Regions from separate parts of the Homo sapiens genome. Here regions 2, 3, 4, 5 and 6 are each linked to region 1. The links are contacts of gene promoters, found by promoter capture Hi-C in blood cells and fetal thymus (Javierre and others, 2016). All regions are on one chromosome and are shown on one strand. The core of a region is centred on a gene start or on the middle of the fragment in contact, and the rest is flanking DNA. Distances in the headings are between cores, read along the strand shown. Region 1 holds the start of NVL (nuclear VCP like). Region 2 has its middle 25 kb from the start of FBXO28. Region 3 overlaps FBXO28 (F-box protein 28). Region 4 has its middle 66 kb from the start of WDR26. Region 5 has its middle 17 kb from the start of DEGS1. Region 6 overlaps DEGS1 (delta 4-desaturase, sphingolipid 1).

Region 1 (5,139 bases), core at 1,664-4,163:
GTGGTAAGATCTCATCTCTACAAAAAATTTTAAAATTAGCCAGACATGGTGGTGCATACCTGTGGTCCCAGCTACATGGGAGGCTGAGGTGGGAGAATCACTTGACCCCACGAGTTTGAGATGGCAGTGAGCAGTGTTCACACCACTGCACTCCAGCCTGGGTGACAGAGCTAGACCCAGTCTCAAAAATAAAAAATTAAAATTAAATTAAATATATAGCTAAGTGAAAATTTATTTAAAATATTGTGTAAGACTATCTTCAGGCTATGTGTGTAAGGTGTATATGAAACATAAATAAACTTCATGTTTAACTTGGGTCCCATCCCCAAATATCTCATTATGTATATGCAAACATTCCAAAACCTGAAAAAAATCAATCTGAAACATTTTTTGGTCTTAAGCATTTAGAATAAGGGATATTCATTTGTACTTTTATAATGAACCAAAGTGAAAGCTATAGAGGAAAACTGATAATGTCAAACGCTGAAAAGAGTCAAGTGTGAGGACAGAGAAGAGGCCACTAGATCCAGTAATTAGGAGTCACTGCTCAGAAACCTCAATAAAGTGAAGGAGCAAGTTGTGGGACGCGGGAACATCCAGAGGAAGAGTAATTCAGAGTGACTGAACAACGAGAACAAAGGTCCTGTGCTTGGCATGTTTGAGAAGGTCTGTGTGGCTGGGACAGGAGAGGAAAAGTAAACTAGGACAACAGAGGCCAGAATATGCAGGGCTTTTCAGACTGGGTTTTACTCTAGATGTCTGTGACTCCACTGAAAGGTTTTGAGCAGGGCTATGGCAAGCTCTGATTTCCCCCCCCTTTTTTTTAGTTATACTTTAAGTTCTGGGATACATGTGCAGAACATGCGGGTTTGTTACATAGGTATACAGGTGCCATGGTGGTTTCCTGCACCCATCAACCCGTCATCTACATTAGGTATTTTTCCTAATGCTATCCCTCCCCTAGCCCGATTTTTCCCTTTAAAAGGATGTCTTGGCCACGCCTGTAATCCCAGCACTTTGGGAGGCTGAGGCGGGCAGATCACCTGAGGTCAGGAGTTCGAGACTAGCCTGGCCAACATGGTGAAATCCCATCCCTACTAAAAATACAAAAAGTAGCCAGGCGTGATGGCATGCACTTGTAATCCCACGTACTCGGGAGGCTGAGGCAGGAGAATCACTTGAACCCAGGAGGCAGAGGTTGCAGTGAGCAGAAAAAAAAAAAAAAATTAGATGTCTCTGGCTGCTCTGTGGGGAATAGGCTTTAGGTAAAAGCAGAATCAGAGAGATCAGTTAGGAGGCTATTGTAATAGTATAAGGTAGAGATGATGGTTTGGACTAAGATGGTTACAGGGAAAGACAGTAAGAAGTACTTGGAATATATTTTGAAAGTAAAGCCAACCAGGCTGTTGACAGATGGTATACAGGAAATGAAAGACTCAGAATGATCCTTAAGGTTTTTGGCCTTAACAACAGGACGAACGGTAGTATCATTTACTGAGATACAGAACACTAAGAAAGGGCAGATTTGAAGGAAGAAAAAAATCACAAATTCCACTTGGCCATTTTAATTTGGAGATATGCTGACTAGGCAGCTGGATATATCAATCTGTACTTCAAGATAAAATCTGGACTGGAGATATAAAGTTAGCAGTCATAAATATACAGAGGCCAGTGCAGCAGCTTGCACCGGTAATCCCAGCACTTTGGGAGGCTGAGGCCCGATCGCTTGAGCCCAGGAGTTAGAGACCAGCCAGAGTAACATAGTGGAACCCCGTCTCTACAAATAATAATAATAATAATAAATTAGCCAGGTGTGGTGGTGCACACCTGTAGTCCCAGCTACTGGGGAGGCTGAGGAGGGAGGATCACTTGAGTCAGGGAGGCCGAGGGTGCAGTGAGTTATGATTGTGCCCATAAACAGCCACTGCACTCTAGCCTGGGCAACAGAGCGAGACTATGTCTCAGAAAAATAAAAATAAAATGAAATAAATACATAGATAATAGAGTATGTAGATACTACTCAAAGGTTATTACACTAAATGAGATCACATAGGAAGTATGGATAGATAAGAAAGGTGTATGAGGAAAGAGGAGGAAGGGGAGGTAAGAGAACAGTGGCACAGAGCACTTCCAACATTTACAAGTTGGTAGGAAAAGATGGGTCCGAAAAGGAGATTGTTTAGGGGCTGGTGAAGTGAAAGAAAAACAAGGAGAATGTGTAGCTCACAAATTCCTAAGTGAAGAAAATTCTCTCCCACCTTTTAACTCAGACTGCTTGCTTACATTCTGAGGTATTTGCCACACACTGCTTTTTACTGATGGTCATGAAAATGAGAAAACCGTAGGCAAAGTGCCTGTTACTGTTGCCAGACCCATGTTATCTCGTTTTAGTGTGTAAGTTCCTTGAGAACGGAAATTAACATATTATTTATGCCACCCCTTCTCAAGGACCTCTTACAATGCGAGCGTTTGAAGACCATTCCTGTGCTAACTTCACAAGCCAAAGAGGTTAAAATTCAAAGGCTACCTCCACTCTACTGAATGATCTGCGCTGAAGACGACCAGACAACTTGGGCAGCCCTACCAAGCTGCACCCTCCCACCATCCCCGGCTTCTCCCTGAGACTCCGCACCAACGTGGGTAGGGAAGGCCCCGGCAGCACCAACTAAGGAGAAACAGACGCACGCCCAGACCCAGACTGGGGAAAGAAGACTAGTTGAGTTCCACCTGGATGCCACCCGACAAAAGGGGAGTGGCACCCTGGGGCAGCGATCGGGGCCCTTGGCGAGGCCAAGCGGTGCAGAATACACACCTGGATGACTCGCTGCTTGAGTTTATTATCCACGAACCCTGCAGGTCTGGGCTTCATCGCGTCGGTCTTCCAAGCCACAGCTCGGACCGCCAGCTCCTAGTCAACCGGGGGCCTCGTAGGGGTTGCCCGCCGCGATCGCCGGGCCAGTTGCACCTGAAATGCGCCCCTCCTGGGGCCTAGCCCGCGCCGTTTCCGTCAGAATAAAAGTAATGCGAATGAAGGGGAAAAAATTCCGAGGAGAGGGAGAAGACTTGAAAACCTCAGGGAGTTTCTAGGGGCCTTATTTTGCAGGCCTGCCCAGTGGACCCTGGAAGATTAGGACCCCTTTGAACGCGCTCAACTTTATTGGTTCCCCGCCGGGCGAACCAGGTGGGAGGAAGTTCCTACCCCGGCGCGGTGTGCGGAGACGCTGTCAACGGCGTCCTCTGGAAAACTTGGTTTGCTTTCCTCAGGCGTTCCAGCCACACCTCATTCTGATACAAAGCTAGTCTTCGCAAAACCAGCCACGGTAGATACTTGGAGTGATAAAATCAGGGTAAAAACACACCACCAGCCGCTGCTTGCTTTCCCACGTAGTTATCTTACATTTTAGAGGCCCGACAAAAGGGCTAGGTGAAAAAGAAAAGGAAGGACGGATTTATCCAGATAACTAAGTCATTTGTTACTTTTAGAACTCGTTTGACTTACGCTGTTATCATCGGCAGGTAATTTGTTGAATATATCCAGTGCAGGACTCCTTGGCCCAGAATTTTATCAAACGTTTGTATTTGCCCCAAGAAGTTTATCCTGCACTTAGGGAGACACAAAGGGACAGTTACCAAGCATTAAAAAAAAAATGCTGGCTTTAGTTTCTGTCTTCTTGTTTATTTCAACCGTGTTTTGAGTATTCTTATTTCAGGTCCTCCTTGGCTTATGACAAGGTTAAGTGCAGTGTATTAAGGGGCAGAGGGGAGAGAAAATGGAATTAAGAGAAGGGCGTGAGGCCGGGCACGGTGGCTCACACCTGTAATCCCAGCACTTTGGGAGGCCGAGGCGGGCAGATCACTTGAGGTCAGGAGTTCACGACCAGCCTGGCCAACATGGTGAAACCTTGTCTCTACTAAAAATATAAAAATTAGCACTGAATTAAGTATTAGATTTCCCACTCAAAATATTGATCCGTTTGGTTGCAACTTCATTTCCTACTTCTTCACTATGTGTAGTTTTATTTTTTATTTTTTTAGTTGTAAAATATAAGAACATTCACCATCTTAAACATTTTAAAGTGTGCAGTTTAGTGATAATACATTCATAATATGCAACCATCACTGCCATCTAGTTCCAGAACTCTTTTCATCTTGTACAACTAAAACTCTATACTAATTAAAAAATAACTCCCCATTCCTCCCTCCCCCCAGCCCCTGGCAACTACCATTCTACTTACTGTCTTTATGATTTTGACTACACTAACTTCCTCATATAAGTGGAATCTTCCAGTATTTGACTTTTGTGACTGGCTTGTTTCTTAGCTTAATGCCCTCATATAGCATGTGTTAGAATTTCCTTCTTTCTTTTCTTTTTTTTTTTTTTTTTTTTTTGATACAGAGTCTTGCTCTGTTGCCCAGGCTGGAGTGCAGTGGCGCAATCTCAGCTCACTGCAACCTTCGCCTCCTGGGTTCAAGAGATTCTACCACCTCAGCCTCCCAAGTAGTTGGGACTACAGGTGTGTACCACCACACCCGGCTAATTTTTTGTATTTTTAGTAGAAATGGCGTTTTGCCATGTTGGCCAGGCTGATCTCCAACTCCTGACCTGAGGTGATCCACCTGCCTTGGCCTCCCAAAGTGCTGGGATTACAGGTATAAGCCACCGCACCTGGCCTTTCCTTCACTTTTAAGGCTGAATAAAATTTGGCTCTTTTGTTGCCATTCTGCCTTTTGCCATGGGATGACACAGCAAGAAGGCCCTCACCAAATAACAACTCCTTGATATTGGACTTTCCAGCCTTCTTGCATTCATTCAACAAGTGTTTATTGAGTGCCTACCAGTTTCAGTCTCTGCTCTGCGCTTTAGGCTTGTGGGGAAAAGTGGAAGAATTATAACTAACTTTTTATAACATTTAAAAAATTTGATTAGGTATTTATGTGCTTGATTAAATGTTAGCAAAGATTCCCTACAGCATATAGTACAAATGTAGTCAATGCTCAGTAATTTTTAAAATGAAATGTAATTCTGTGCATGCCAAATGTCCAACATAGAATGAAAACACACTGAGGCCAGGCATGGTGGCTCATGCCTATACTACCAGCACTTTGGGAGGCAGAGGCAGGTGGATCACCTGAGGTCAG
Region 2 (5,139 bases), core at 1,233-3,732, 240 kb before region 1:
ACCTCAGTGATCCACCCGCCTCGACCTTCCAAAGCTCACGCCTGTAATCCCAGCACTTTGGAAGGTCTGGGCGGATCACCTGAGGTTGGGAGTTCGAGACTAGCCTGACCAACATGGAGAAACGCTGTCTCTACTAAAAATACAAACTTAGCCAGGTGTGGTGCCGCATGCCTGTAGTCTCAGCCACTCGGGAGGCTGAGACAGAAGAATTGCTTGAACCTGGGAGGCAGAGGTTGCAGCGAGCAGAGATCATGCCACTGCACTCCAGCCTGGGCGACAGAGCGAGACTCCACCTTGTTAGATATGAGTTCTAAATTTCTTTTCAAATAATTAATATGTCAGTATGTTCAATTCTTTGCCTTCTACTTTTAAACTTAACTTCCTCGTAAAGCAACCTTTTTCGATTACCCTCCACCCTGACTCCTTCCGATTACCTACTCCACCCTGACTCATTCCAATCACCTGCTCCACCCTAACTCATTCCAATTACCTGCTACCTGCTCTGCCCTGACTCCTGCCAAAGCACTCACCCCGTCATTCTCTTTAAATTAGCCAATCGGAATTAGTTTAGCCTGTGTGGTCTAACCCTAGCCAATAGGGGAACGACACAGCAGCAGGGGCCACATGTGTCAGGGATAAGAACCCCTTCCCCTCCCTTGTCCAAGTGTGTGCTCACCATTGTTCCATCTATAAGGGTGCACCCTTCTATATAGAAGTACCTTGCCTTGCTGAGAATTAAAAAGAAAATTTTATACTCGAGTGTTATTCCTTTTGTGGCACCGAAACTTTATATATAACACACCTCAAAAAAAAAGAAAACAGACAGGGTCTCACTCTATTGCACAGACTGGAGTGCAATGGTGTCATCATAGCTCACTACAGCCTTGAACTCCCAGCCTCAAGTGATCCTCCCGCATTATCCTCTCAAGTAGATGAGACTACAGGTGTGTGCCACCACAGCTGGCTAATGTTTTTATTTTTTGTAGAGGTATGGTTCTCACTGTGTTGCCCAGTCTGCCTCAACTCCTTGGCTTCAAGTGATCCTCCCTCCCTGACCTCCCAAAGTGCTGGATTACAGGCATAATTGCATCTGGCCCTAGTCAAATTGTAAATATGCTATTCAGACACACTAGATTCAAACACTTACAGCTTCTTATTTTGAAGTTGCAATATGATACTTATTCTTTGCTGTGAAATCTAAATCCTCTGAAACCACCCTCCACAGCCCAGCAGGAAAATGTCCTGCCACACGTAGCTATTTGAAGTCTCTGGCTCGCCTATTTGAATGCTCATTATTTCCTAGATTCAAATGGCCTTATAAATGCACCTATTGTATGATTATGGAAGAACTATTAAAAATAATTCAGGAAGCCAAAGGTTATAAAACAGAGACATGAGTAATTGCTTTGGTCTGTGATCTTTAAATGGCATGCATAAAAGACCAAGCATTTAAAGTGGGGCAGGATAAGGCAAAACACAGCACAACTTCCCAGAATGTCCTTTAGCAGATCAATGCTTATGGCTGTCTAATTTCATGTGATTATTAGAATAGACAAGTGAAGGCCGGGCGCGGTGGTTCATGCCTGTAATTCCAGCACTTTGGGAGGCCGAGGAGGGCAGATTCCTTGAGCTCAGAAGACCAGCCTGGCAACATGGTGAAACCCTATCTCTACTAAAAACACAAAAAATTAGCCAGGTATAGTGGCATGTGCCTGTAGTCCCAGCTACTCAGGAGGCTGAGGTGGGAGAATCACCTGAGCCCAGGAGGTCAAGGCTACAGTGAGCTGAGATCATGCCACTGCATTCCCACCTGGGCAAATGGAGTGAGACACTGTTTCAAAAAAAAAAAAGACAAGTGAGTCTCAAAGGAAAGAACTAACCATGAAGGGGACTTCTCAGAACCTGGAGAAGTGGACTATGTAAATTGAAATCACATTATAATGTTATACTATTATTTATATTGGTTAAAGGAAAAATGCATATCTTCATTGTAAAAACTTCTTCCTCTTTTCCTTTTTTTTTTTCTTTTTTTTTTTTAGATGGAGGGAGTCTCCCTCTGTGGACCAGGCTGGAGTGCAGTGGCACGATCTTGGGTCACTGCAACCTCCACCTCCCGGGTTCAAGCAATTCTCCTCCCTCAGTCTCCCGAGTAGCTGAGATTACAGGTGTGCACCACCACACCCGGCTAATTTTTGTATTTTCAGTAGAGACAGGGTTTTGCCAGGTTGGTCAGGCTGGTCTCAAATTCCTGAGTTCAAGTAATCTGCCCATCTTGGCCTCCCAAAATGCTGGGAAAGGTGTGAGCCACCATACCTAGCCCTGTAAAAATTTCTACAAGTAACATTTGCAAAAAACAATCTTGGCTGCTGAGAATACAAAGAAACAATGATTCTCAGAGTCATAAGAAAGCAGGGGAAATGAGGGTGTGCCTCTCTGTGGATACACTCAGCACCTCAGGACAGGACCTGAGATATCTATGATTATGAAAGATAACAGGGGCCATGCACAGTGGCTCACAAACACTTTGAGAGGCCAAGGCAGGAGGATCAGTCGAGCCCAGGAGTTCAAGATCAGCTTGAGCAATATCACAAGACCTCATTTCCACAAAAACAAATTTTAAGTTAGCTGGGCTTGGTGGTGTGCACCTGTAGTCCCACCTACTCCAGAGGCTGAGGCAGGAGGTTTGCTTGAGCCCATGAGTTTGAGGCTGCAGTGAGCTATGATCACAACACTGCACTCCAGCCTCTGACACCACAGGTGACAGAGTGCAACCCTGTCTCAAAAAAAAGGATAATGAAGAAGGTATAAAAGAAGACATGGACTTAAAAGTTTAGAAAATTGGCCGGGCATGGTGGCTCACACCTGTAATCCCAGCACTTTGGGAGGCCAAGGCAGGAAGATCACGAGGTCAGGAGTTCAAGACCAGCCTGACCAACATGGTGATAGCCCGTCTCTACTAAAAATACAAAAATTAGCCAGGCATAGTGGCGGGCGCCTGTAATCCCAGCTACTCAGTAGGCTGAGGCAGGAGAATCGCTTAAACCTGGAAGGCAGAAGTTGCAGTGAGCCAAGATCATGCCACCGCACTCCAGCCTGGGTGACAGAGACTCCATCTCAAAAAAAAAAAAAAAAAAAAGTTGGGAAACATTGTACCAGCCAGTGGGCTGTGTCTAACTCATCTTCCTTTCCCCCAAGCCTATAATTCCATTTAACAAAACTCTAGCACAAATAAATCTAATCTATGGTGATGGAGTGAATATCAGTGGTTGCTTGGGGCAGGGGCTGTGGGAAATGGAAACTGATTGGAAAGGGGCAAAAGGAAACCTTTCGGGGTAATGAAAATGTCCTATATCTTGAGTATGGCGGTGGTTGTATGAGGATATATATTTATTATTCATCAAACTGTACCAATAAGTGTGTACACTTTATTATATGCAAATTGTACCATTATTAAGGTTTTTTTAAGACTATGTTGCCCAAGGTGAACTTGAACACCTGGGCTCAATCAATCCTCCAGCCTCACCCTCCTGAGTAGCTGGGACTACAGGCACACGACACCACGCCCATCTGTTAAGTTGATTTTAAAAGGAACCACAACATGTTCAAAAGAGAACCCTTGCCCTAAACCTGCTCCTCAAGTCTTCCCCATCTCAGGAAATGTCAACTCCATTCTTTCATTTATTTAGATCTTGGAGTCATCTTTGACTGCTCTGTCTATTTAATCTACATTTTCTTTATTTTCATTTACATTTGAAGGACACCCAGACTCTGATCTCTTCTTAGTACTTTTCCCTCTTCCATCCTGGTGCAAGCCACTGTCCTCTCACTGATGCAGGAAACTCTGAACTGGTCTCCCGCTTTCATAGCCTCCTGGCTTCTCCACTATTCTCCCTGCCATGACCAGAGTGGTCCATTTGTAATATTTTTGCTCACATGACTCCTGTGCTCAACACCCCCCATAGTTTCCTTTCTAATTCAGTACAAATTCCAGAGTGCTTACATGGCCTGCAAAAGAACCTACGTGATCTGTCCCCAACCCTCTCCCTCACATTCACATATTCTCTCCCACCCTCAACGCACACACCTCTACGCTTCTCATTACAATTCTCTATGCTCACTAGGCTCACTGCCCTCTATGCTGTTTTTCAAACACACCAAGCACACTTCCGCCTCAGGACCTTTGACTTGTGCCTTTGCCTTCAATAACATTGACATCCTCCCAGATATCCCGAGGCCTCATCAGAGAAGCCATCACTGACTGGCCCATATAATAGCATTCCTTCTCTCTCTCTATCCCTCAGTCCTGCTTTATCTTTCTTCATTTAACTTGTCTTACAGATTGTATGTGTTTTTTCTCTCCCCTAACTAGAATGTATTTTGTATGTTTTGTTTGCTGCTGTATCCCAAGAGCCTAGAGCAATACCTGGCATATTAAAGATGATCAACACATTTTTGCTAAATGAATTAATGAGTCCATTTTTCTTTCCTTTCAAGTCCTGACCATGAATATTTTAAAATTGGCCTGACTAAAATGTAACTCTTGGCTGGGCGTGCTGGCTCACACCTGTAATCCCAGCACTTTGGGAGATCAAGGAGGGCAGATCACCTGAGGTCAGGAGTTAGAGACCAGCCTGACCAATATGGTGAAACCCTGTCTCTACTAAAAATACAAAAATTCCCCAGGCGTGGTGGTGGACACCTGTAGTCCCAGCTACTCAGGAGGCTGAGGCAAGAGAAAGAGAATCACTTGAACCCGGGTGGCGGAGGTTGCAGTGAGCTGAGATACTGCCACTGCACCCACCCTGGGTAACAGAGTGAGACTCTGTCTCAAAAAAATAAAAAATAAAAATAAAATGTAACTTTTGATTATTCTCATTGTGCTGAAACCTGTGCCTCCTTTAGTCTCTTTTTCCCATTTAAAGGACTCATCCTTCACCTTCGTGCTCAAAAGACTGGAAATCATCCTTGATTCCTCTCCTTACCTCATCTACCACATTCAATCCATCAAAGATGCTTTTATTAATAGATCTATCTCCAAAATATATCCTAATCCAACTATTTCCTTATATCTCTACTGCCACCATCCTAGTGCAAGCCAACATTGTCTCTGCCCTGGATTATTAAAATAGATTCCTGACT
Region 3 (5,139 bases), core at 1,712-4,211, 180 kb before region 1:
AAAAAATAAAAGGGGTAGAAGGGAAAGTTAAGGAAATCTCAAGTACAACAAAAAGACAGATGAAAAATGAGAAAAAAATGAGCATTTATGAGGTTCAGTATTCTAGCAGGAGCTTTGTTTGCTAAACAGTAGATTAAAAAATTATTTCTCACCCACAGTCTAAAGGCCTAAATGATATTCATCGTATATAATTTGTTACTGTACCATTTTAGACATAAGCGTGGTACTTCTACTGTGTGTTAGAAATGTGATGGTGTACTTTTTAATTTTTGTAGAGACTGTTTCTAGCTATGTTGCTCTTGAACTCCTGCCTCCCTTGGCCTCTCAAAGTGCTGAGATTACAGGCATAAGCCACCAGCCACAGCCTGTACTGTACTTTTATAAAACTAAAATTTTTTTTTTTTTTTTTTTTTGGGAGACTGAGTCTTGCTGTGTCGCCCAGGCTGGAGTGCAGTGGCACGATCTGGGTTTGCTGCAACCTCTGCCTCCCAGGTTCAAGCGATTCTTCTGCCTCAGCCTCCCGAGTAGCTGGGACTATAGGCACGTGCCACCATGCATGGCTAATTTTTGTATTTTTAGTAGAGACAGGGTTTCACCATATTGGCCAGGCTGGTCTCGAACTCCTGACCTCGTAATCCGCCCTCCTTGGCCTCCCAAAGTGCTGGGATTACAGGCGTGAGCCACCGTGCCTGGCCAAAAATATTTTTTATAACCTGTAGTCAGCTCTGTATTCGTGGGTTCCACATTCATGGATTCAACCAACCGTGGATAGAAAATATTTAGTGAGACTCTGTCAAAAAATATATATGTATATTTAGAGAAGAAAAACAATTGCCGGATGCGGTGGCTCACGCCTATAATCCCAGCACTTTGGCAGGCCGAGGCAGGCGGATCACAAGGTCAAGAGTTCAAGACCAGCCTGACCAATATGGTGAACCCGCATCTCTACTAAAAATACAAAAATTAGCTGGGCGTGGTGGCAAGCGCCTGTAGTCCCAGCTACTCGGGAGGCTGAGGCAGGAGAATCACTTGAACCCCGGAGGCAGAGGTTGCAGTGAGCCGAGATCATGCCACTGCACTCCAGCCTGGGCAACAGAGCGAGACTGTGTCAAAAAAAAAAAAAAGAGAAGAAAAACAATTTTTAAAACCACAGCTGTTTTTAAAATATGAATTTTAAAATAGTACAATGTAACTACTATTTACAAAGCTTTGACATGGTATTAGGTAGTGTAGGTAATCTAGAGGTGATCTAGGTTATATGCAAATACTATGCCATTTTATATAAAGGACTTGAGCACACACACATTTTGACAATGTGGTCCTGGACCCAAACCCCTGAGGATGCGGAGGGACTGACTATTTTACTTCTTACAGCCTGGGTAAGGTTCAACATGTGGTATATCATTTGAAAGGTGTAGAAACAGCCATTAAGAGTTTAAGTGACCTTCCTAAGGCCTGTGGTCTTTCCACTAGACCTCAAAACTCATACCATTACATTCTCGTTAATGTAATTTGCAAAAAAAAAAAAAAAAAAAGATTAAATCTACTCAGAAAATGAACTGTTTTGAAAATTTGTTAAATACCTTGCTTTCTTAATATATACCTCTAAAGCCATGGCAGCCACTTAAAACTCTGAATGGTAGAAGCAGTATGGTTCTCACACACATACTTTCCTTCACCTTATCCTCTGCTTAAAGCTTTTGGACAAAGAAAAGAAACTATTTTGAATTTTATTGAAAACATAGATTATCCCATTTGACTAAAATAATCTCTATACAGTAAGATTTTTAAATGTTCTTTTTTAATGGAAGACTGGGGCAAATGGAAAGAGTGAACTTGCTTTTACACTACATTTAGAAGACTACAGTAAAGATAATATTTCACAAATTGTAGATGTATTTTCACATTACTTTTAATGGCAAAACCACAGTTACTTTGGAACCGATCTAATAATTTACTGTCAGTTAGCAATCCCTGTAGGATATTTTGATAATGAAAGTTATTCTGAAGAATAAGTATCATGGAAAAAGACTAATTGTATAATATATGTTAAGAAACGGCCAGGCACGGTGGCTCACGCCTGCAATCCCAGCTCTTTGGGAGGCCGAGGCAGGCGGATCATGAGGTCAGGAGATCAAGACCATCCTGCCTAACACGGTGAAACCCTGTCTCTACTAAAAATACAAAAAAAAGAGAAAAAAATTCGCCAGGTGTGGTGGCGGGTGCCTGTAGTCCCAGCTACTCGGGAGGCTGAGGCAGGAGAATGTCGTGAACCTGGGAGGCAGAGCTTGCAGTGAGCCAAGATCGCACCACCGCACTCCAGCCTGGGCGACAGAGCAAGACTCCGTCTCAAAAAAAGAAAAAAAAAAAGAAAAGAAACACCCTAGAATAAATGCTTGGTACATGATAGTACTGCATAACTACTGTATAAATGTTGAATTGCTATCCTATCACCTATCCATCCACATCATCCCTGTGCTCAACTCCACACTGTTTAGCCAGGTGTACCTTCCTCCTGCTCTAACTTCCCTTACCTGTTGAAATTTACTTACTAATGTCCTTCATTAGACCTACCCAGTTCTCTCAACTGGATCTTAATCTCTACTCTGTTTTCACACAGCACTTTGCTTATACATTGAACTTATTACAGTCTGAGTTTTGCTTTGCTGTTTATGGGTCTTTCATGGAGTCATGTTTCACTGGATAGGATCTGTGTCTTATGCCTATACCATTACAACAGTCCTATTCTAGCCCAAATACACTATAAATATTCTTCTGTCTACCAGTATTTATAAACATATAATATCTAGAGGTATATTAATAAGGCTGTGGGTATTTTATTAAACATATAAGTACTATTTTAAGTATTCTATATTTTTACAAGTCCGTCTCAATAGAGATCTTGTTTACAATGACCTTTGTGTTCAAAACATAATCATCTGACTTCTGAAAAACCATATAATCTTTTTTTTTTTTTTTTTGAGACAGTCTTGCCCCATCACCTGGACTGATCACAGCTCATGGGACTATAGGCATGCGCACAGCTAATTTTTTAATTTTTTGTAGAGACAGAGCTCACAGTGTTGCCCAGGCTGGTCTCAAACTCCTGTCCCTAGACAGTCTTCCCACCTCGGCCTCCCAAAGTGCTGGCACCGTAGGTATGAGCCACCACGCCCAGCCAAAAAACAAATTCTTGTGTTGAATTAACCCTTTCATTTGCCCTTAAACAGTTTTGTTTAGATGTATCAATTAATGTTAAACAATTAATATACTTAACCATCTTTACCCCTTATTTACTGAGTATCTGCCATGTGCCAGATGCTGCTAGGCTCTGGGGATCTGACAGTGAAACATGGTATGATCTCTTCTGTCATAGAGTTTACTACATTATATGGAAGATAGAAATTAACAAAAAGATGTACTTACAAATTGTAATGTGTGTTCTGAAGGGGAATAAAGGGTTGGATGAAGATGTTAACATGATTTAAATTGGAGGAGGGTTCAGAAAAGACTTCTGAGAAAGTACAGTGTTACTGTGACCTCGTGTATAACTAAGGAATTTGAAGTGAGGGAGATACACAGGGATGGCATTCCAGGAAAGGGATCAGCATGTGCAAAAGCCCTGGGGCAAAAAGGTGGGGAACTTGATTTAGTTCAAAGGGCTGATGGCCAGTTTGTATCTATAGATGCAACATATTAGCCTTTGGGGACAACATTTAAAAATTATGGAAGGCCAGGTGCAGTGGCTTATGCCTGTAATCCCAGCACTTTGGGAGGCCAAGGCAGGCAGATCACCTGAGGTCAGGAGTTTGAGACCAGCCTGGCCAACATGGTGAAACCCTGTCTCTACTAAAAATACAAAAATTAGCCAGGCTTGGTGGTGGGTGCCTGTAATCCCAGCTACTTGGGAGGCTGAGGCAGGAGAATTGCTTGAACCCAGGAGGTGGAGGTTACAGTGAACCAATACCATGTCATTTCCAGCCTGGGCAACAAGAGCGAAGCTCCGTCTGAAAAAATTATGGAGTACTGTGGTACTTTTCCTATATATAACCCATATGTAAAACGTTGATAAACACAAAACTACTATGGGTCAATTAATATCCTAGCACTATACATAAAATATCAGTCAGTATGAAGGACCCTTTAAATACTGATTTTCTACTTTGGTTTATATTTTTAATTTTATTAACTATTTCTTGATTATGTATAAATATTATATAACTTTTAAGCTTTGAGTAGCTAGCTTCCACAAATATTTACTCTTTGGAGATATACATGTATATATAAAATTTGTCTATTTCTAGTCCTTGAACTCCTTGAACAAGCCAAGCTGACACTGACCTTGGGGCCACTATCATTACTATTTCTACCTGAAAGACTTTTCTCCCCATATCTTCAATTGATCAGTTCTTCCTCATCCTTCAGTCTTACCTTACAAATGGCAAAGAATCCTTTCCCAACCACCCATCTCATGTTATTCCTGCCTTTCCTGATAGAAACTGTCACATTACCCTCTTTTTTCCATGTGGCACTCCTTTAAATTATTTTCCTGTTTAGCTTCATGAGAATGATAATCTTGTCATCCTTATTTACTGTTTTTTACTCCAGTACTTTGAAAAGTGACAAGTACATAGTAAGAACTCAATACTTGAATAATGTTTATCTTACAAGTTATGATAGGCTTACGTAATTAAATTGTAAGTCCAAGGGAAAGTACTCCATTTTTCATTTCTTTGTATATATAGTTCCTAACATAGTAGTTCAGTAAGTTTTTATTGGGGAAAGGGGTTATCTTCTTCTAAAGTGAGCTCGTAATATAGTAATATTGCCAGAAATAAATATGTTTTCTCCTTTGGCAATCAGCCATCATCCAAAATTCCTCTCCTGAACTCCCATCCTGTATCTCAAGCCACCTGCTAGCAAATATCACCTACATGTCCCATGTGATTCAAAATCACACATCTCATCTCCCATTGCATCTGCCTACGTACACCACCTCAGCCCAAGCCATTTCCTGTTCAGTTCTCCAAGCCCACAAACCTGGCCTCTCCTATGATGTCTTCTCAGGCTTATGATAAGGATACATCCTAAGGTTAGATTTTGCTGACATTTATTAAGCATACATCATGCTCCATTAAC
Region 4 (5,139 bases), core at 1,060-3,559, 170 kb after region 1:
TGTGGGAAAGAATGGAGAATGCATCAGAACACGGGCAGCCAGGTTACCATGCGCTGCTTCAGCACAGGGGAAGATGCGGGGGGCAAGGAACCTTCACTGCCCTGGCGTCATCAGCCCAGTGCTGCAACAGTGCAGCAGAAAGGGCAGCGGGGAAAGGCGACAGGAAGAGGAATCAAGACACTTACATTGCTCTAGGAGAGATTCGCATTTTTTTGTGGATCTGAGGATGGGAGCTCTGGGAGCTCTGGAGCCTCTTCCTGTCCGCAGGCACTGCAAAGCTTTAGCACACCAGTAGCTCCCCAGAGGGCTGGGAACCCATGCCAGGACTGGCACCCGCTCCGGGAAGGGGTGCTGGGAGTGCCATGATTTAGATCAGTGATTCACAAACTTTTGGTAGTGAAGACACTCCGTTAAAGCTTATTGTTTTGGGGTTGTATCCTACTCCCCGCCTTTTAAAAATGTTAGTTAAAAATTTAAATTAAAATGGACTTTGTTTTAAAATTAAAAATTTCCTGTTGTTTGAAGCTTCTATGACAACTGGGTAGCCTTCTGAGGTATTGTAATACAGTATTAGGATTTGGACTCTCTGCTGTATACACTAAGCTCTTAAGGGTGAAGGGCAGGCCATTGGTTCTGATAAGAAGAGAGGTTGCCATAGGTATCTCTGCTTTCTTACTCTTCCCCACTCCAGGCCATGTGGACATCTGGAGATATTTGATAAAATGTCCTTTACCAGCCGAGACTCATGACTAATCAATCGTTGTTTTTGTTGGTTTGCTTCTAATCCCTCTCCCTTCCAGTCTATCTTTCATCCTGCCATCAATTTCCTAAAACAGATTTGATGTGCCACCTCCCTCCTCAACAGTTTTCAATGGGATTTCCTACTGCCTGCATAAAGTCTAATGCCTTAGAATGGGGCAAGGAAAGCCTTTCATGATTTAACCCTCTAATACCTTTCTAGTTTCAATTTTTTATAACTCTCTATTTCGGGTCATTTTTTGAACATCAAGAAACTGAAAAGCATAGCTCAACTGCCTTATACAATACACGCCGTTATTTGCTTCTGGGACAAAAGAAGTCTAGAGTCAGCTGACTGGGCACTGTGGCTCACACCTGTAATCCCAGCACTTTGGGAGGCTGAGGCAGGAGGATCGCTTGAGGCCAGGAGTTCAAGACCAGCCTGGGCAACATAGCGACATCCTATCTCTACCAAAAAAAAAAAAAGAAAAAAGAAAAGAAAAAGAAATCTAGTGTCAGAGTGGGGCTTTGGGTAAGGCTCAACAATTCCCCAAGGATCTAATTCCTTTCTTTCTTTTTTCTTTTTTCTTTTTGAGACAGGATCTTACTGTGTCTCCTAGGCTGAAGTGTAGTGGCACAATCATGGCTCACTGTAGCCTTGACCTCCTGGGCTCAAGTGATCCTCCCACCTCAGCCTCCTTAGTAGCTGGGACTACAGGCCTGCACCATCAAGCCTGACTAATTAAAACAATTTTTTTTTTTTATAGAGATAGTGTCTCCTTATGTTGCTCAGACTGGTCTCTTGAACTCCTGGTCTCAAGTCATCCTCCCACCTCAGCCTCCCAAAGTGCTGTGATTACAAACTGAGCCACTGTGCCTGGCCACAATTTCTTCCTAATTCTCATGGTCCCAAAATGGTTGCCAGCAGCCTTCATCTCATGTCTCTAAAGAAAGAATGACTTGGCTGGTGCAACAGTTCATGCCTGTAATCCCAGCACTTTGGGAGGCCGAGGCAGGCAGATAGCTTGAACTCAGGAGTTGGAAACCAGCCTGGCCAACATGACGAAACTCTATCTCTACCAAAAATACAAAAACTTAGTCAGGCTTGGTGGCATGCATCTGTGGTCCCAGCTGCTTGGGAGGCTGAGGAGGGAGGATGGCTTGAACTCAGGGGGCGGAGGTTGCAGTGAGGCGAGATTGTGCCACTGCACTCCAACCTGCTGGGCGACAGAGTGAGACAAAAAAGCAAAGAAAAAAAAAAAAGAATGACTTTTCCCCAGCATTCATGACTGATCTTTAATCTGAGTAGACTTGTTTCTGACGTACATCTGCCCCTGCACCAACCCCAGTCGCCAGTGGGCTGGGATGTGCTGAGTGGCTACCTGCTGCACGATTTCCCTTGACCTCAAGACTCCCCACAATGCAGTGGATGCCTAAGTGGACAATGAGGCTGCTAGGATGGAAGAAGGGGGGCTGGAACCCGAGGAAGCAGCCGGCATCTGTGCATTCCACACACCCTGCACCATCACATCTCCATGCCTCCCCTTCTGCCACTTCCTGGAACCTACCATCTGCTTCCACTGATCAGAGCCCTGCTTATGCTTCAAAGCCTTGCTCGTGGGCCACCTCTGCTGCTGTGCCTCTTCTGTTCTGGAAACAGTAATCTTTTTTTTCATCTCTCTACTCTCTAAAGCATATCATGTTTCTATCTCATGTGCATTTACTAATTCTGCTTTGTTTTATGTCCACTTGTTTGTATATTTGACTCCTATATTGAACAGAAAGACACTTGAGGTAGGCGGAGTCATACTTTGTTCATTGTAGGGGTTTAAGAGTGTTGAATAAATGGTCATGGGCAATAATACTATCATTATTGAGAGCTTACTGGGTGAAAGGCACTTTGTAAAGAATTCTTCTCATAATTTTATTTAATCTCATTTAATCTTGACAACAGCACCATGAGGCAGATACTATTATTATTGTATCCAGTTTACAGATGAGGGTCCTGGAGCTTAGAGTGATATAAGCGAATTGCCCAAGGTCACATGCTCAGCAGACAGCAGCATAGGCTTGAACCTATATATATATATATATATATTTTTTTTTTTTAACCCCAGAGTTCATGTTCTTAATCATGATAATGTTTTATACAGAATTTTTTTTTTTTTTGGAGATGGAATCTCGCTCTGTCGCCCAGGCTGGAGTGCAGTGGCGCGATCTCGGCTCACTACAACCTCCGTCTCCCAGGTTCAAGCGATTTTCCTGTCTCAGCCTCTGGAGTAGCTGGGATTACAGGTGCGTGCCACCACGCCCAGCTAATTTTTTGTATTTTAGTAGAGACGGGGTTTTACTGTGTTGCCCAGGCTGGTCTCAAACTCCTGAGCTCAGGCAATCCACCTGCCTCGGCCTCCCAAAGTGCTAGGATTACAGGCGTGAGCCACTGCTTTATACAGAAATTTGTTTGTGACCAGCTACTTTCCTGGAAGAGGGGTCCCTGTTGGAGATGATTCTGTGGTGAGGAGGCTGGAGGAAGGTAGGGTGGAGGGGCAGAGGACCTGGAGGCTTCATGAGCAACTGGAGGGAGGTGCTGAAGAATGTGGGGAGGGCAGGTGAGCAGAGGATCCTCTGGGCCTTGTTCAGAATGGTTTGCCCAGAGGGGTCTTCCCTGAGGATACCACTTGTGGGCAGAACCCAGGAGTGCTGCAGATACGGCTCCCGGAGAGTGAAGCCCTGGTTTTCTTGGGGTCCTCAGAAACAGAGGGAATCAAGTCACTTTACTGGCCCAAGGGAATGGAAATTAGGGGCCGAAACAAACATCTACTGGGATAAAATAAGTGGTGTGAGTGAGATTGCAGCCAGAAATGATCTCTGTGAACGTAGCTGGTCAGCAGAAGTATCTCGTGATAGAGACTCCATGTGGACAGCATGGAGGAAAGAGGAGAAGGGCAGCCTTTGGAGCCGAAAGCCCAGCTCTCCTGAAAGGCACAGCCATGGAGCAAGAGCCGAAAGCCTTTTATTTGGAGGCTGGCCTATTTCTTTATCGCTAAACCCACTTTGCCTGTTTCCAGAGCCTCCTGGCTTGCATGAGCAGAACGAACAGCCTTCCTCCTGGTCTAGGCACTCTTGCACCAGTGTAACCTGCAGCGTGGGGAGGTGGATTGCCATTCCACCTCTAGAGTTAGGGAGGGCGGGGCCCGTGCCAGGGGAATGGAGTCCAGTAATTACTGAGCAACCCCCCTGCTTACATTCCCTGCCGAGTTCTACATAAACAATCAGCTGAAAAGACTGTCCCCTTTTCATAGTTTTCACCGCTGGGTGTTTTCAGAAGCAATTTAAACACTGGCAAACATAAAGGGAAGCTTTTATCCCTTCTCTAACCACTGAAAGGAAGCCGTGGATTTAAACACCATATGAATGGTGGGGAACAGAGCCCAGAGACATAAAAGGTGGAGGGAAGGGTGAGATGTTGAAAGCCTGTGAGTTGACAGGGGGTAGAACACAGGCTAAGGTGATGGGATCGGAGCTTTGGAGGGTGAGGGAGGAGGAGGAGGGAAGAAACAGCTGGGTGCCAACCCCAGAAGGGCAGAAGGAAGGCAAACAGCTCTCCCGGGGAGGGAGGGAGGGAGGGAGGTGGGGGCAGGGGCGGAGGAAACCTGGGAGACTTCTGCACGGATGAAGTCACCACCTTTTTGGGAGGAGGATGAGAAAGAAGATGGCCTTTAGTTTGTATTCAAATCCAATACACTATTTAGAACACAATGTACTAAATGTCATATACAATTTAATTGTGTGTAATTAAAATTCCTATCAGCTAGGGAGAGCCTGAGGCACGGGTGCTGCACTTGCTGAAAGCCAGGACCGCAGAGTGTTCCACATCTCCTTCCCTTGTCGGTCTTTTGGCCCTAATTCCTCTCTGTCTTTTCCTCCCTTGCTTCTGTCTTTGTTCCTCTTGTCTCTGTCACCCTCCCCCCTCTTATTTCCTTCTTCCTCCTGTTTTGACCCCACAGGCAGCCTGGACTCTCACTCTGAAACAGCCAGGTGGCTCCCCTGCAGGAGGAGGGCTGTCGCTGCTGTCTGCAACCCCACCGGGCCTCCCAGAGCCGAGGTGACAGCCTGGGCCTCGGGGAAGCCCGTGTCTCATGGGCGGTTGTCCAGCTGCTCAGGCCTGCACAGGGGCGGGTCCCCTCCTAATCTTATCCTCACACAACCCTGGCAACCGCACAGGGCTGCCTGGTGTTTAGCAAGGGGAGGTGGAGTGTGGTCCTCCCCCAGGAGAGGCAGCAGGCGACTTCCCTATTGAAAACACAGCTGTGGCAAGGGAGATAGACAGGAAACCCGACCCAGCCCTCTGGCAGGGATTGCCGTGGGAGTGCCAACTACTGTGGAATAACAGGCCCAGCC
Region 5 (5,139 bases), core at 1,723-4,222, 160 kb before region 1:
ATGCCCGCCTCGGCCTCCCAAAGTGCTGGGATTACAGGCGTGAGCCACCACACCCGGCCTACATCCCTCTGGTTTCTGATTAATCATTTCCTCAAAGCAAAATTAGAGTAAATCGTACACAGAAGAAATATGAGCAGTTGGGTGTTTGAGCAAAATGTACAACTGATAACTGGAAAGGAAATACAAATCAAAGATAAACTTCCCCTAATTCAATAAATTCTGTTCAAAGAGACGCAACTAAATAGCTTTCAACTTTCTCAGCTTTTGTGTTTTTAAACTCTTTTTTTCCTCTTGTCCTTTGGATTGTACAAAAGTCAAATTCAAATTAACTGATTTGTTAGGAATCTGTGATGCAGCAATGTAAATAGCAAAACTGACTCCAGAATACAACACCTAAGATATACTTTCCTGTGATAAGACAAGGGGAACATGCTTCCCTCCGCAAGGCCAAGCCAAAGAGAATTAGCTGGGGTGGGGTAAAGAAGAGAGGGCTAAACTGCTTGTTCTTTCTTTGGAGAGTTGGAGCAAGCTTACAAGAAAGTGCTCTTTAGATAAACAGTTTCTGTAACTCTACTGTAAGAGGACACTGCCTGTTACAGTGTAGCCCATGGATCAACAGCCTCAATCACCTAGGAGCTTCTGTGAAATGTAGAATCTCAGGCCCCATTCCAGAATCAAATCTGCATTTTAACAAGATCACCTGGTGATTAGTTTGCACATTAAAATTTGAGAAATGCCACTGTAAGGCACATTTGTCATTTTGAATCTAAATGCTAAACAACCCTTAGCTCCCTATATTTAGCAATAACAAAGAAAATGGAGAGAGAGAAGAGAGGAAGGAGAGTAAAAGGGAGGAGAAAGCAGGAAGAAAATACAAAAGTTAGTATTGGTCAGGGACAGTTCTTGAAACCAGTAGAGGTCATGACCATCAGCCATCCCAAACAGAAAACAGTTTCATCGCCTTTGGTGTCTTTTTTTTTTTTTTTTTTTTTTTGAGACGGAGTCTCCCTCTGTCGCCCAGGCTGGAGTGCAGTGGCGCGATTTCAGCTCACTGCAAGCTCCGCCTCCCAGGTTCACGCCATTCTCCTGCCTCAGCCTCCCGAGTAGCTGGGACTACAGGCGCCCACCACCTCGCCTGGCTAATTTTTTGTATTTTTAGTAGAGATGGGGTTTCACCACGTTAGCCAGGATGGTCTTGATCTCCTGACCTCGTGTTCCGCCCGCCTCTGCCTCCCAAAGTGCTGGGATTACAGGCTTGAGCCACCGTGCCCGGCCAGGAAATTTATATTACAATTCCCACCAGTATCAATCCAGTCACTATCATTTGAGAATAAAGAAATTATTTTTAAAAATACACTTTGGGAGGCCAGGGTGGGAGGATCGCTTGCATCTAGGAGTTCACGACCAGCCTGGGCAACATACCAAGACTTCGTCTCTACCAAAAACAAAAATTTTAAATTTAAAAATTAAAAAAAAAAAAATTAGCCAGGCTTGGTGGCATACACCTGTAGTCCCAACTACTTGGGAGGCTGAGAAAGGAGGATCGCTTGAGCCCAGGAGGTCAAGGCTGCAGCGAGCTGCCACTGCACTCAGCCTGAGTGACAGTAAGACCCTGTCTCAAAAAATAATAATAAAATATCCATCAATAGGAGACAGGGTTCATAAATTGGGATATATCCTTACAATAGAATACTAGGCACCAGTAAAAATAAGAAAATTATCTATATGCTAAGAAATATTTCTGGCCGGGCATGGTGGCCCATGCCTGTAATCCCAGCACTTTGGGAGGCCAAGGTGGGCAGATCACTTGAGGTCAGGAGTTCAAGACCAGCCTGGCCAACATGGTGAAACCCCATCTCTACTAAAAATACTAAAAGTAGCTGGGCATGGTGGTAGGTACCTGTAATTCCAGCTACTCGGGAGGCTGAGGCAGGAGAATCGCTTGAACCCGGGAGGCAAAGGTTGCAGTGAGCTGAGATCATGCCACTGCACTCCAGCCTGGGAGACAGAGCGAGACTACGTCTCAAAATGAAAAAAAAAAAAAAAAGGCCAGCGTGGTGGCTCATGCCTGTAATCCCAGCACTCTGGGAGACCGAGGTGGGTGGGTCACCTGAGGTCAGGAGTTTGAGGCCAGCCTGGCCAGTGTGGTGAAACCCTGTCTCTACTAAAAAATCCAAAAAGTAGCCAGGCATGGTGGCGTGTGTCTGTAATCTCAGCTACTCAGGAGGCTGAGGCAGGAGAATCACTTGAACCCAGGAGGTGGAGGTTGCAGTGAGCTGAGATTGTGCCACTGCACCCCAGCCTGGGAGACAGAGTGAGACTCTGTCTCTAAAAGAAAAAAATATATATGTATTTCCAAGACTGCTAAGGGAAATAACAAAATACAGAACAATATTACAGTATACTAACTTTTGTGAAAAATAAAGAGGGAAATAATATAGAGTCATGCTGAATAACCACATTTCAGTCAACAAGCAGCAGCATATTTTATGACAGTCCCATAAGATTATACTACCATATTTTTACTGCTTCTTTTCTATGTTTATGTGTTTAGATACACAAATACCACTGTGCTACAAGTGCCTACAGTATTCAGAACAGTAACATGCCATACAGTTTTGTAGTCTAGCATCAATAGGCTGTACCATATAGCCTAGGTGTATATAGTAGGCTAAACCATCTAGGTTTGTGTAAGTAAACTCTATTATATTCATACAACAAAATCACTTGATGCATTTCTGAGAGCACATCCCCATCTTTAAGCAGTTCATGACTGTACTGCTAAGTAGTGGCATGCATATGCATAAAGAAACTCTAGGCCGGGCACGGTGGATCATGCCTGTAATCCCAGCACTTTGGGAGGCTGAGGGGGGCAGATCACTTGAGGTCAGGAGTTTGAGACCAGCCTGGCCAACATGGCGAAATCCCACCTCTACTAAAAATACAAAAATTAGGCAGGCATGGTGGTCTGTGCCTGTAGTCCCAGATACTCAGGAGGCTGAGGCAGGAGGATCACTTGAATCTGGGAGTCAGAGGTTGCAGTGAGCTGAGATTACACCACTGCACTCCAGGCTGGGAGAAAGAGTGAGATTCCATGTCAAAAAAAAAGAAAGAAAAGAAAAGAAAAAAAAATTCTAGAAAAATGCACAGGGAATCAATAACAGTGGTTATATTTTGGGGTTTGACAACATAACAACAGGAACAGGAGCTGGGAGGAGCTTATCACTAGACACCTGTATGTTTTTCTATTTTTTTTTTGAGACGGAGTCTCGCGCTGTCGCCCAGGCTGGAGTGCAGTGGCGCGATCTCGGCTCACTGCAAGCTCCGCCCCTCGGGGTTCACGCCATTCTCCTGCCTCAGCCTCCCGAGTAGCTGGGACTACAGGCGCCCGCCGCTACACCCGGCTAATTTTTTGTATTTTTAGTAGAGACACGGTTTTACCATGTTAGCCAGGATGGTCGCGATCTCCTGACCACGTGATCCGCCTGCCTCGGCCTCCCAAAGTGCTGGGATTACAGGTGTGAGCCACCGCGCCCGGCCATGTTTTTCTATTTTTAAACCATGGAAGTGTATTCAACAATTAAACCAGCTGCTATAGACTGAAAGTTTGTGTCCCCGCAAAATGTATGCCTTGAAGCCTAATCCTCAAGGGGAGGAGACTAGGAGGTTGGGCTTTGGGGAGGTGATTATGTTCATGAGGGTGAAGTCTTCATGAATGGGGTTAGTGTTCTTTTAAAAGAGACACCAGGCTGGGTGCGGTGGCTCACGCCTGTAATCCCAGCACTTTGGGAAGCCGAAGCAGGCGGGTCACCTGAGGTCAGCAGTTTGAGACCACCCTGGCCAACATGTGAAACCCCATCTCTACTAAAAATACAAAAATTAGCCAGGCATGGTGGGGTGCACCTGTAGTCCCAGTTACTTGGGAGGCTGAGGCAGGAGAATTTCTTGAACCCAGGAAGCAGAGGTTGCAGTGAGCTGAGATCATACCATTGCACTCCAGCCTGGGTGACAGAGCGAGACTCCATCTCAAAAAAATTAATTAATTAATTAATTAATTAAATAAAAGGGACCTCAGAAAACTCCTTCACCTCTTCTGCCATGTGAGGTTATAGCCAGAAGACGGCCATCCACGAACAAGGAAGCAGCCCCTCACCAGATACTGAATATGCCAGTGCCTTGATCTTGGACTTCCCAGGCTCCAGAATTTTTTTTTTTTTTTTTTGAGACGGAGTCTCTGTCACCCAGGCGGGAGTGCAATGGCACGATCTGGGCTCACTGCAACCTCTACCTCCCGAGTTCAAGCGATTCTCCCACCTCAGCCTCCCGAGTAGCTGGGATTACAGGCATGCGCCACCATACCTGGCTAATTTTGTATTTTTAGTAGAGATGAGGTTTCTCCATGTTGCTCAGGTTGGTCTCAAACTCCCGACCTCAGGTGATCCACCCACCTCAGCCTCCCAAAGTGCTGGGATTACAGGGGTGAGCCACCACGCCCAGCCTAATTTTTGTATTCTTAGTAGAGACGGGTTTTCACCATGTTGGCCAGGCTGGTTTCGAACTCTTGACCTTGTGATCCATCCGCTTTGGCCTCCCAAAGTGCTGGGATTATAGGCGTGAGCTACTGTGCCTGGCCAGACTGTTTTCTTAAAAACCAAAAGCCTGGGAAGAAAAACAAAATATCTTGCAAATGTATTCTCAATCCCAGTCAATCCCCTGCAAAACTCAGACTCTGGAAGAATGAAAGCTATGCGCTCTTTTCTCCACTCATTCATATTGTTGGCTTCACACAGATAGAAAAAGCTACTTCATCCTGCAGAACTGCTCTATCAGTTCATGGTGTTTTCCTGGATCCTGGACCCCTGCCTTCCCCACCATGAGTCACCTCTGGATCGAGTCCATCTTCTATTTGGGATTTGGAACCAGACAACCTTTGTCCCTTTTTAGCCTCTGCTGCACTCTAAGCTGTGTGATCTAAGACACGTCACTCACATTCTGGAAGTATTCGCTTCCTCATACATGAAATGGGGGAAATTTCTCTAACCATAAGCCTGCGGTTTTGATTTCAGTGCTCACTAGTTCAAGACTTTTCTTCTTGCCTATGCCCCTTCACCCTCTTCCTTTGTCAATTTCCTTTTTCAT
Region 6 (5,139 bases), core at 1,739-4,238, 140 kb before region 1:
GAAAAGACATTTTTAACTTGAGATGGCAGAATTGCACATTTGATAAGTGCTTTTTTTTTTTTTTTTTTTTTTTTGAGATGGAGTCTCTCTCTCACCCAGGCTGGAGTGCAGTGGCACAATCTCGGCTCACTGCAACCTCCGCCTCCCGAGTTCAAGCAATTCTCCTATCTCAGCCTCCTGAGTTGCTGGGACTACAGGCGCACGCCACCATGTCTGGCTAATTTTTTTGTATTTTTAGTAGAGATGGGGTTTCACCATATTGGTTAGGCTGGTCTCGAACTCCTGACCTCAGGTGATCCACCCGCCTCGGCTTCCCAAAGTCCTGGGATTACAGGTATGAGCCACCGCACCCAGCCAAGTGCTTAATTTCTATCTAATTAGCATGCCACAATTTATTAGTATTTGTAAGTTCCTGGATGGCAGGGATCAGATGTTGCCTTTATATTCTATGGCGTCATCCATGCAGTACATTCTTTAATAATATCAAGTTAATCTAATTGTATGTATTTGTTGTTAATTTTACAAATAAGCCAGATATTTAGTCCCTTGGAATGTGATGGGAGAGAGACCTAGAGGGTCGAGTGTATTCAACTGCTGCTGAAATGTAGACTGCTTTTTGTTTAGAATTCCCACAGCTGCTGCTGCTGCTGCTTTTTTTTTTTTTTAAGAGAGAGGAGGGAGGCAGGTCTCATGGTTTCCCTTCTCAGTGTTTGTGTCAACCATTCATCAGTCATCTTTGAAAGAACCTAGTAACACTCATTTTTCATCTTGCTGTATTTTTTCCCTTCTAGGTGAGGAAAATAGCAGCTGAATACTATGACAACCTCCCTCACTACAATTCCTGGATAAAAGTACTGTATGATTTTGTGATGGATGATACAATAAGTCCCTACTCAAGAATGAAGAGGCACCAAAAAGGAGAGATGGTGCTGGAGTAAATATCATTAGTGCCAAAGGGATTCTTCTCCAAAACTTTAGATGATAAAATGGAATTTTTGCATTATTAAACTTGAGACCAGTGATGCTCAGAAGCTCCCCTGGCACAATTTCAGAGTAAGAGCTCGGTGATACCAAGAAGTGAATCTGGCTTTTAAACAGTCAGCCTGACTCTGTACTGCTCAGTTTCACTCACAGGAAACTTGTGACTTGTGTATTATCGTCATTGAGGATGTTTCACTCATGTCTGTCATTTTATAAGCATATCATTTAAAAAGCTTCTAAAAAGCTATTTCGCCAGGCACGGTGGCTCATGCCTATAATCCCAGCACTTTGGGAGGCCAAGGTGGGTGGATCACCTGAGGTCAGGAGTTCGAGACCAGCCTGGCCAACACGGTGAAACCCCATCTCTACTAAAAATGCAAAAATTAGCCGGGCGTGGCGGCACATGCCTGTAATCCCAGCTACATGGGAGGCTGAGGTGGGAGAATTGCTTGAACCCAGGAGGCGGAGGCAGAGGCTGCAGTGACCCAAGATTGTGCCACTGCACTCCACCCTGGGCAACAGAGCAAGACCCCATCTCAAAAATAAATAAATATATATAAAAAATAAAAAGCTATTTCTAGTTTATTTCACTATAAAGTTTTGCTTTATTAAAAAGCTAATAAACAGCTATTAATCACAGTGTATTAGTATTTGTTACATTTTTGTATTTCACTATCTTTATACTATATAATATGGTAACTTGGGTACCGGGGGAACTTTAAAATTTCATCTCAAAAATAATTTTTAAAAAGCCTGAGGTATGATATAGCATAAAAGATTGAGATGAAAATATATTTCCCTGTAAGCTGAATTACTCATTTAAAAATTTTAACTTCTATATGGGACCCGAATTAGACACTGCTGAATCCTGTACAGCCTTACTCATAAATAAAGTACTTACTGAATTTCCACCATTCAAATTCATTTTTCAGGTGTGTTGACTCTCACATTAGAAACTGCTCAACTGATAAAGACTTTCATGTTATTTCACTGCAGTGGGAACTGGCTGTGGTCTGATGGTAGATCGTTGGTCTCAAGTAGCTGGTAGCATGGGCTGTTGTTATGTCAGCAGTCTTGCTTACCTCAAATATGTCACTTGGATACGTTTAGTGTAATATGGTGAATTATTTTAAAAATACATCAGCAGCTGGGTGTGGTGGTTCACACCTGTAATTCCATGCTTCGGAAAGCTGAGGCAGGAGGATCGCTTGAGACCAGGAGTTTGAGACCAGCCTGGGCAACATAGTGAGACCCCATCTTTTTTTATTTTTTATTTTTTGAAATGGAGTCTTGCTCTGTTGTCCAGGCTGGAGTGCAGTGGCGCAATCTTGCCTCACCACAACCTCTGCCTCCTGGGTTCAAGCGACTTTCCTGCCTCAGCTTCCTGAGTAACTGGGATCACAGGCGTGCACAGCCATGCCCAGCTAATTTTTTTTTTTTTTTTTTTTTTTTTGTATTTTTAGTAGAGACAGGTTTTCACTATGTTGGCCAGGCTGGTCTCAAACTCCTGATCTCAGGTGATCTGCCTGCCTTGGCCTCCCAAAGTTCTGGGATTACAGGCATGAGCCGCTGTGTCTGGCCCCCATCTTTTCAAAAAATAAGAGTGGTGTGGTGGTGTGCACCTGTAGTCCCAGCTACTTGGGAGGCTGAGATTGAGACTACAATGAGCCATGATCGCACTACTACGCTCCAGCTTGGGTGACAAACACCCTCTAAAAAAAAAAAAAAGTTGGCTACATTGCAGTTTCGTAAAGAATAAAACAACACCCAGAATGCTGAGGGCGGGGTGAGGAGTAGAATCCTCTGTGGGACTGCCAGGCCTGTCTCACAGACCTCATTTCATCCCCAAAATACTTTGCTTTCCCTTCCTGACCCCCTTGCCTAGGAAAATTCCTAGTATCTTCTAATCTGTTACTCAAAGAACAATCAAAGAGTGACAATAGAACCAAGTTTACAATTCAGATTTTACTCAGTCACTAAAGTATCTGCAAAACATACCCCTGGATTTGATGCTAGATCATAGAGATCATGTACTCCCATCAAGTCTATAGAACTCTGGCCAATGGCACCGGGCGTGGTGGCTGTAATACCAGTACTTTGGGAGGCTGAGGCAGGTGGATCACGAGGTTAGGAGTTCAAGACTAGCCTGACCAATATGGTGAAACCCTGTCTCTACTAAAAAAAATACAAAATTATCTGGGCATGGTGGCATGTGCCTGTAGTCCTGGCTACTCGGGAAGCTGAGGCAGGAGAATCGCTTGAACCCAGGAGGCAAAGGTTGCGTGAGCCGAGATCACGCCCTGCACTCCAGTCTGGGCGACAGAGCAAGACAACGTCTCCAAAAAAAAAAAAAAGGCCAGGCGCGGTGCCTCACGCCTGTAATCCCAGCACTTTGGGAGGCCGAGGTGGGCGGATCACGAGGTCAGGAGATCAAGACCATCCTGGCCAATACGGTGAAACCCCATCTCTAGTAAAAAATACAAAAAATTAGCCAGGCGTAGTGGCCGGCGCCTGTAGTCCCAGCTACTTGGGAGGCTGAGGCAGGAGAATGGCGGGAACCCAGGAGGCGGAGCTTGCAGTCAGCCGAGATCGAGCCACTGCACTCCAGCCGGGGCGACAAAGTGAGACTACGTCTCAAAAAAAAAAAACAACAACCAAAAGAACTTTAGCCAATGGCTGCAGCTGCCATGTAAATGCTGAAAACCTCCAAATCTATCACTTCAGACCTCTCACTACCTGCTGGATGCACAGAGTGGGTTGTCATCCCTCTCCAAAACTCCAGTCTCCACTTACATAACCACTTCTTTCCTGAATGGAAGTTTCAGTCTTCGTAGCAGGCATCCCGATTATTCTGGCTCCCATCTGCCAACTCGATCCATTCTTTAAGAGAGCTACCAATCTGGGCAGTAAGAAGGCTGGGCCCCATAACCTCTAAAGAATAACTCCAAACAAAATTATCCGGGCCTGGTGTTGTGTGCATCTGTGGTCCTAAGCTACTCAGGAGGCTGAGGTAGGAGTTTCGCTTCTTTTTTTCTTTTTTTTTTGAGATGGAGTCCTGCTCTGTCGCCCAGGCTGGAGTGCAGTGGCTCGATCTGGCTCACTGCAAGCTCCGCCTCCCGCGTTCACGCCATTCTCCTGCCTCAGCCTCCCGAGTAGCTGGGACTACAGGCGACCACCACCACGCCCGGCTAATTTGTATTTTTAGTAGAGACGGGGTTTCACCGTGTTAGCCAGGATGGTCTCAATCTCCTGACCTCGTGATCCGCCCGCCTTGGCCTCCCAAAGTGCTGGGATTACAGGCCTGAGCCACCGCCCACGGCTGGAGTTTCGCTTCTTGAACCCAGGAGGCGGAGGTTGCAGTGAACTGAAATTGCACGCCATTACACTCCAGCCTCGGTGACAGAGCGAGATCCCGTCTCAGACAGTCCTAAGAAATCACTCAGTAGCTTTGCATGAGTTCTCCCTTCTGTTGTAAACTCCTTTCTCCGTTTCTCTTCTGGTTCAAAGTTTCACACCTTCAAGGCTCACAGCAGCCTTCTGTTACCCACCCCCAGTCCCCAGCAGGTCAGGTGTCAATTTTTTTGACTTTGAGAACCAATGATTATCTCTTCATGGCCCTAATCATACCATTGTGTAAATAGGCACTGTTTCTCCATAAGTTGTAACTCCTTAAGAGCAGGACACATCTTTTATTTCTGTTTCCCAAACCTAGCAGGGTGTTTGACTTAAAGTAAGTGCTTGATAAATGGAGAGAGACCAGCAGGGAGAGTCCTTGAACTTGAGAAGCTTTTTCTAAAACAAAAACACAGCCAAAGACAGGGCACTTGTATAATCTTTAGGTAAAAGTATTTTATGCTACAAATAATGGACATTCAATGAGAATCCTTACTTTTCACTGAGTCCTGTACCAAGTGTTTTACATGAACTATTGTACTTTTTTGTTGTTGTTCCTTTTTTTTTTTTTTTTTTTTTGAGACAGAGTCTTGCTCTGTGGCCCAGGCTGGAGTGCAGTGTTGCAATCTCAGCTCACTGCAACCTCCGCCTCCCAGGGTCAAGCAATCCTCCCACATCAGCCTCCCAAGAAGCTGGGACTGACTACAGGTGTACACCACCACACCTAGCTAATTTTTGTATTTTTTGTAGAGATGGGGTTTCGCT

What was found. The method cuts DNA at HindIII sites, captures the fragments that hold promoters and counts their contacts. A CHiCAGO score of 5 or more calls a contact.
Region 2: a contact is called between a fragment that was not itself captured here and the fragment with the promoter of NVL in region 1, in 4 of 17 cell types (neutrophils, naive B cells, total B cells and 1 more). The highest score is 7.3, in neutrophils.
Region 3: a fragment that was not itself captured here is called in contact with the fragment with the promoter of NVL in region 1 in 8 of 17 cell types (naive B cells, total B cells, total CD4 T cells and 5 more); the score reaches 9.5 in naive B cells.
Region 4: a contact is called between a fragment that was not itself captured here and the fragment with the promoter of NVL in region 1, in 1 of 17 cell types (erythroblasts). The highest score is 6.0, in erythroblasts.
Region 5: a contact is called between a fragment that was not itself captured here and the fragment with the promoter of NVL in region 1, in 13 of 17 cell types (naive B cells, naive CD8 T cells, total B cells and 10 more). The highest score is 13.6, in naive B cells.
Region 6: a fragment that was not itself captured here is called in contact with the fragment with the promoter of NVL in region 1 in 2 of 17 cell types (total CD4 T cells and naive B cells); the score reaches 5.1 in total CD4 T cells.

What each region holds. Positions count from the first base shown.
Region 1 is chr1:224,327,259-224,332,397 of GRCh38, forward strand. It overlaps NVL (nuclear VCP like), which reads right to left and starts at 2,914. Exons shown (of 23, transcript NM_002533.4): 1 at 2,813-2,914. The coding sequence starts at 2,869. RefSeq lists enhancers at 2,482-2,621, 2,672-2,721, 2,912-2,961, 2,982-3,131. The HindIII fragment of the contact is 14,633 bases long and covers 1-5,139 here.
Region 2 is chr1:224,086,235-224,091,373 of GRCh38, forward strand. No RefSeq gene overlaps it. Among named protein-coding and RNA genes, the nearest start is that of FBXO28, 25 kb to the right of the region's middle. The HindIII fragment of the contact is 8,369 bases long and covers 1-5,139 here.
Region 3 is chr1:224,146,311-224,151,449 of GRCh38, forward strand. All of the region lies in intron 3 of FBXO28 (F-box protein 28), which reads left to right. Among named protein-coding and RNA genes, the nearest start is that of DEGS1, 34 kb to the right of the region's middle. The HindIII fragment of the contact is 2,532 bases long and covers 1,696-4,227 here.
Region 4 is chr1:224,498,691-224,503,829 of GRCh38, forward strand. It overlaps a transcript of CNIH3 not described here. Among named protein-coding and RNA genes, the nearest start is that of WDR26, 66 kb to the left of the region's middle. RefSeq lists enhancers at 1-176, 1,552-2,052, 2,053-2,553. The HindIII fragment of the contact is 3,572 bases long and covers 524-4,095 here.
Region 5 is chr1:224,164,126-224,169,264 of GRCh38, forward strand. No RefSeq gene overlaps it. Among named protein-coding and RNA genes, the nearest start is that of DEGS1, 17 kb to the right of the region's middle. RefSeq lists an enhancer at 4,996-5,139. The HindIII fragment of the contact is 4,891 bases long and covers 528-5,139 here.
Region 6 is chr1:224,191,541-224,196,679 of GRCh38, forward strand. It overlaps DEGS1 (delta 4-desaturase, sphingolipid 1), which reads left to right. Exons shown (of 3, transcript NM_003676.4): 3 at 792-1,901. The coding sequence ends at 938. Among named protein-coding and RNA genes, the nearest start is that of DEGS1, 11 kb to the left of the region's middle. RefSeq lists a silencer at 1,019-1,088 and an enhancer at 4,382-4,451. The HindIII fragment of the contact is 3,553 bases long and covers 1,213-4,765 here.